Linked DNA regions of Homo sapiens: region 1 is linked to region 2. The links are contacts of gene promoters, found by promoter capture Hi-C in blood cells and fetal thymus (Javierre and others, 2016). All regions are on one chromosome and are shown on one strand. The core of a region is centred on a gene start or on the middle of the fragment in contact, and the rest is flanking DNA. Distances in the headings are between cores, read along the strand shown. Region 1 overlaps NEB (nebulin). Region 2 holds the start of NEB (nebulin).

Region 1 (3,353 bases), core at 1-2,500, 73 kb after region 2:
TTCATGAAGGGCATTGGATGGCTCCCTCTGGGCTCCCTGGAAGCAGAGAAAAACAAGAAAGCCATGGAGATTATTAGTGAAAAGAAGTACCGCCAGCACCCAGACACTTTGAAGTATTCCACACTCATGGACTCGATGAACATGGTTTTGGCCCAGAATAATGCAAAAATTATGAACGAAGTAAGTCTTTCAATAATGCAGTGTTTCATATGCATCAGAGAGAATCCAGGTATAATTTACATTTAATCCACAGGTTTTGCTAATACAGTTATAGGGCATCACACTTGAGGTTATTTTACCTAGAAAAAGAGTCTTGTCGTTAAAAAAAAAAAGAATAGGAATTATTTCTAACTAGTAGTCTTCAAATCTTCAATGAACCATCCTATCTCATTGACATAACCAAATAAATAGGGACTTTTTCTTTTACTGCACCTCTTGAAAATGAGTCCTGTTTGTCTAAGGTGAGGTTGAATAGACATTCATGACACTGAATCAGCAGATTTCCTGATGGTAGCTGGTGTTGGAAACCACCTCCCAAACCCCAGCTTGCTTTCTGCTTTGATGGGATCAAAGAAAAGTCCAAGATTACATGCCTGTAGCAGCATTTCAAACCAGGACGTTCTCTGGGTAATCTTGAGGGCAGTTGTTCTACATCAGTGTTTCCTTGGTTCATGAATTATTCCAGCTTTTAGAAAAGACTTACTCTATTTTTACATTGATTTGCAATAAGAGATCAAGACCAACAAGTACAATCAACCTTGAACATCTGTTTTTGAAGTTAAAAGTAATAAAATAACTGCAGCAGCACTGGTGGATCAAAATGAGAAATGCCTTTGATAACAGAGAAAAAGATGATTTGGATCTAAACGTGAAACAGTTGCAGAAAATAATGGCCATAGTTGTGCTAGAAAGATAGAACTGTATTATGCTAAGCCACGGAGCAAACCCCCTGGAGTCTTCAGAGAATTGAATGATTTGTGGAGCTCAACCTCCTTGAAAGGGACCTGCCTCAAAGACAAGGCACAAATTTCTGTGCCTCTTTTAAGATTTAAATCTAAACTACATGAGGATATCTATTTTTTTCAGTGTTAGTGATTAACATTTCAGGATAATGATGCCAAGAGGAGAATCATAGAACTAGCACGTACTGGCACCAAGAGACATCTTGATGACCATCAAGTTGAATCCTCCCATTGCAGAGTTGAGAAAAGAACAGCCCAGAGAAGCAAAGCACCTCCCACACAGCGGGTCAACAGCAGGGTCTGGACTAGAACAGGGATTCTGATAACTAGTCACCACTCTTTCCACTAGCATTTCACTGTCCAATACTATTACTACTAGCCACATGTGTTGATTTATATTTACATAAATCATATTAATAATTCAGTTTCTCATTCACATTAGCTACATTTCAAGTACTCAATCGGCCTATGTGGCTAGGTTCTACCATATTGGATTATGCAGAACATTTCCATCATTACAGAAAGTTCTATTGTATAGTGCTGGTCTAAAACAGAGTTCAGAAAAATGACTGTTTTTGTAAATAAAGTTTTATAGTGACACAACCACAGCTGTTTGTTGGCGTGTGGTCTCTGGCTGCTTTTGGACTACAACAGCAGAGTTGAGTAGCTAATGACAGCAATTGTTTAGCCCACAAAGCCTGAAATTTAAGGAATTTCTGTCTATACAGAAAAAGTTTGCCAATCTCTAGTCCAGAAAAAGGTTATTCTTATTTTAATTAAGATGGGCTAAAACAAAGAGATAGCATTTATCATCTATTGCATTTGCAAATATTAAATAGCTGTGTTACATGCAATATCTGTAAGGGAGTTTCTGTTAAAGCAAACTTTTAATGGGCCATTTGTTAATGTTCGTTAAAATTTAAAACTCAGGTATCATTACCCTATAGAAATCCTTATATATGTGTGCAAAGATATACATACATACATACATACACACAAGAATATGTTTTGCAGTTTAGGGTTTCTGAAAGGAGACGCTAAGATGAAAATTGGAGTACAGAGTATTTTTTAGGGATCCTAGTCTTTGGGAAGAAGGACTAGGCCGGAGGAGAAGTTGAACAGTGATGCTGGCATGACAAAGTCTTGGCCAGTCCCACAGAGGGCTCTCAAGTGTCTCTGTCAGTAGAGACCTGCACTGAACTGAAATGGCTAGATCTTTGTACCCCCACTTCGATGAGTTGTTGAATGTGGTTATCTGGGAAGGGCATACTCTTGAGTGAGACAGCTGGTGACTGGAGACTATTTGCCAAAAGTTGGGGAATCAGGTCCTTCCTTGAATGAGTATATTGGTGGCACATCTCCATGTCCACCACAAGGATCATGACATTGCTTGTAGCAGAAAAAGGCTAGAGGCCATAAGTTAAATATTCATCACCAGAGAACTGATTAAATTAATTAGATTATACCTCCTAATGAAATACTACGTAGCTCTAAAAATGAATGAAGTAAATTATTTTAAGAAGGTTCAAATATGTCTAACCTATATTATTAAGTTAAAAATCAAGATGTAGAACATGACTTCATGTATATTTAAAAAGGACTATATGTCTGTTTTAATTTACACAGAAAATTTTAGGAGGCAAATGCTACCTTCATGCTGTAAGATAAGGGGAAAAAACATTTTTACTTTCCATCTTACATCCTCCCTGCTGTATTGTTTGAATAAGCAACTTTTCCATTAAAATTTTTTTGGGCCAGGTGCAGTGGCTCATGCCTGTAATACTAGCACTTTGGAAGGTGAAGGCAGGTGGATTGCTTGAGCTCAGGAGTTTGAAACCAGCCTGGGCAACATGGCAAAAACCCATCTCTACAAAAAATACAAAAATTAGCCAGGCATGGTAGTGCATGCCTGTAGTCCCAGCTACTCAGGAGGCTGAGGTGGGAGGATGGATTGTTTGAGCCTGGGAGGTGGAGGTTGCAGTGAGCCATAATTGCACTACTGCACTCCAGCCTGGGTGACAGCGCAAGACTCTGTCTCAAAAATAATAAATAAATAAATTAATTAATTTAAACCTAGCTAATAAAAATACATGAAATATTGATATATATGTACAATGATATGTATGTACTAAGTGAGCTTCTTTTAAGATTTTAAACACTAATTTACACTGTTTTTTTCCTAGCATCTCTACAAACAAGCATGGGAGGCTGACAAAACCAAAGTCCACATCATGCCTGATATCCCCCAGATTATTTTGGCAAAGGCAAATGCAATTAATATGAGTGATGTAAGTATAGTTCCCCCTGTTGTCATCTTTCTCTCCAGCAGATTTGAACCAGTAAGAACAAATTAATTAATATCTCTCTCAGTTATGAGAGTGAATGTTTTAA
Region 2 (3,363 bases), core at 864-3,363:
ATCCCATTCGTGAGGGCTCCACCCTTATGACCCAATCACTTTCCACACATCGGGGGGTAGGACTTCAACATATAAATTTTGGGGGGACACATTCAGCTCAGATAGTAATGATTTTTCAGTCTAATAATCCCTAAGGATATTGAGATGTGTATACATAGGAACCCTCATTCTCTGTTAGTGAAACATAAAATAGTGTAAGGATTTTGACTGGCAACTTGACAATATCTATCAATTTTCAAAATGTGCATATATCTTCTGCCTCAGTATTTCTATTTCTAGAAATTTACCTTACAGATACATTTCATATAAGTATACAAAGGTAATGTACAGGGATGCTTACTGTGTGTTTTGTTTCGCATTGTTTTGCTTTATTTTGTAATAGCAAAAACCTCGAAACAACCTAGATGTCCATTAATAATGATTAAACTATTATACTCTATCCAATCAATAGAATTATTTGTGGAAATTAGAGTAGGATATGTTTATGTGATGTTTCATAAAAATGTCTATTGCATATTAAGTATATCGATTTATGTCAATATCTATATTGAAAATATCTGAAACTTAAAAATGACTAAGAAGGTCAATGCTCATTTTTTACTTTATATAATTTTGTACTCTATGTTTTTAAAGTATGGGCCTGTATTATTTTTTAATTCAACAACACATTTTAAAGCATGTAATGACTAGTAAGTCACAATTCTAGTTTGCAGCTACCAAGTGAGTGATCTCATATTACATAAATATCCTTTGGTCATAAGACCTGTGAGAACATACAAGATGAACAGGTATAATCAGTTAAGATGATAAAATTCTGTTAGATTTTATTTACTACCATGTGAATCATGGAGGGGGAAAAGGTACATGTATTTGAAATATGAGATTACTTTCTCAAACTCCTGGCCTCAGACAATCTGCCCGCCTCGGCCTCCCAAAGTGTTGGGATTACAGGCGTGAGCCACCACGCCCAGCGAGATTACTTTCTAATGTTTAACTTAAAAAAGAAAAAATATTACAATATGTTTAATCTCAAATCCATATCAAGATATAGGTGACTCACAGGGTTTTGCCTGAATACAGGAGCAACCCAGAGAAAGAGCAGTTCTCTGTCACATAAGAGCCTGTGATTTCTGTCGCTGTGTGTAAGGACAGACAGACAGACAGATAGAATTAGATTTTAAATTAGAAAAAATACTTCAGGAGCAAAGAAAGTGCAAGAAAGACATCAGGCAAGTTTTAAGAAAATGGTTAGATAATTTTTATGAAGGAAATGTCTTACGTTCGGATTTGCCAAATAGGGCATTATTTTCTCCTGATAAGTTACTGATTTCCATGTTATCTGCTCTTGCTGTTCAGAAATTGAGCCTGTTTGTGTCCGCATTCACACGTTGCTTCTGGGAGCCAGGAGTCATCTGAGTTAATAGAAAAATCACTAACTCGGTTACATATGAGAGAGGTTCTGTATTCCTAGCAGCTTGCCTTATCTAAGGAGGGAGAAGGTGCTAAATAGGATTTTGGTATACCCTCTTGGTTTAGTAACAGAAAAATGATGGGGTCTAATCTTTCTAATTACACCCTGTGGATATCTTATTTAGTGCCATTGTCAAATATTTTCACCTTTAACTTCACTCATCACATTTTTAAAAATTGCTTTTGTCAACTTGATGTTTACTGGGTCTTATTCCTCAGTTTCTTTCACACTAGCACCAGTAACTTACCTGTAGCTCACCTGGTGAACCTTACCAGAGTGAGTACATTTACCACCATGACTGGACAAATGACATGAAGAAAGCAGTCACGGAAGGGTTAAAGCCTCTCAAAGTCATGCTTATTTTCTACTAAATTCTTTTGCATGAATATGACATTGAATGGGGCCTCAGTAAATGGGAAATTCAACCTAAAATTGAACTGCACAGGCTGGAAGTTAGGTAAAATTTGATTCCATTTGAATTGTTCTAAGCAAGCAATTTGTTACCCTTTATCCTTTAGTGGAATTGATGAACAGGTGGTTTTCAGAAGATCACTTGGTAAATTTAGCTTCTGAAATTTGAGCAACTCAAGATCTGATTGGTTGCTCTTGCCACATGATAATTCGGAGCCCAGGCATCACGCTGGCTTTTGCCTGGGGTTCTCAGGAGGGGAGAGTTGGGAGAGGCTTTGCTGCTGAGGAAATTTATTTGGTAGATTGAAGGTAAGGCCAGTTTATGACTTTTTCTGTAATACTCTTTCAGGAGATGCTCCACAACTTCCCTCGAAGTATTTTTCAAAGGTTTGGGCCATAACTGAGGAAATTAGTGGTAGAAATATGGCTAGGAGAGTTTAACCCCATTGCCCTACTAAGGCCCTACTAATATCTGCTATGTACCGTGTGTGATTAGAGTCAAGTCCTTTGCTAACCAATTTATTGCTTGACTGAATTGGCTCTCTTGTCTAACATTTTTTTGCCTTTGATATTTTTCTCTAAATATATTAGTGTGAAAAAGAAGATACGCTGCTCTACGTTCCTATATTTATCCTGTTCTACTGGGCTTCATTTGCCTGAGGAGTGGCAGTTTCGCTAGCTTAACAAAACCAGCCACTGCAGGGTATTGGTTTACATGGCAAACATCTTTGGATGAAGGGACAGCTGTTCCAACTCATCATCCACTTCATATCAAGAGTCTTACTCTCTGGCGTCAAACTGTAGAGGCCTTGAGAGATCCTTTCGCTGTTTTCTGCATTAGAAGCTTAGGCTAAGGACTGACAATCCTATATGTACCTCAATCAATGCTTTACAACTTTGTTATTTTTCAGGTTTGAACGAGAGCTACAGAAACGAAAGAAAAAGTCTGTATAAGCCAATGGTGTTCGGGAAGAAAATAACCCCATTGCCTTGAGGTTTCTTTTTTTCTTTTAAAATTTATTGACAGATGTATTTTTATGGGTTCCAATTTGAAGCCTAAGATATATTGCAAACAGTGGATCAGGGCAGTATGGAAAACTAAGTCAGCCCTCTTAGAATTTTGGTGCTGGGGGATAAATTTCAGCTTCTTCTGAAACCCAAGCTGACCTTTCACTAAAATTTTTGCTGGAAAATGTCTTTTCTCTAAGTGTTTGGAAGTTTAAATTCTCTGTTCCCTGAGTCCAAACTCTCTCACTTCCTTACCTCAATTTCGTTTTACAATTTTAACTAAACTGATTATGTAGAAGTAGCAATTCCCAACACTGAAGGAATAAAGAGAAAGAAATTTGAAGCTTCTGCTGTTTATACTTGTATTTTAAATGTCTTCTCTCCTTTAGCCTGCAACAATATATGAATTTGTACAATAGTTTAGCTTCAAATTCTATTTTTATAATGTCATAAGATAATTTCTGTGCTGGGAA

The links. The method cuts DNA at HindIII sites, captures the fragments that hold promoters and counts their contacts. A CHiCAGO score of 5 or more calls a contact.
Region 1: a contact is called between a fragment that was not itself captured here and the fragment with the promoter of NEB in region 2, in 2 of 17 cell types (naive B cells and total B cells). The highest score is 5.3, in naive B cells.

What each region holds. Positions count from the first base shown.
Region 1 is chr2:151,658,962-151,662,314 of GRCh38, reverse strand. It overlaps NEB (nebulin), which reads left to right. Exons shown (of 182, transcript NM_001164508.2): 46 at 1-180; 47 at 3,146-3,250. Among named protein-coding and RNA genes, the nearest start is that of NEB, 74 kb to the left of the region's middle. The HindIII fragment of the contact is 6,754 bases long and covers 1-3,353 here.
Region 2 is chr2:151,733,226-151,736,588 of GRCh38, reverse strand. NEB (nebulin) reads left to right here and starts at 2,113. Exons shown (of 182, transcript NM_001164508.2): 1 at 2,113-2,191; 2 at 2,794-2,877. The HindIII fragment of the contact is 3,549 bases long and covers 1-2,728 here.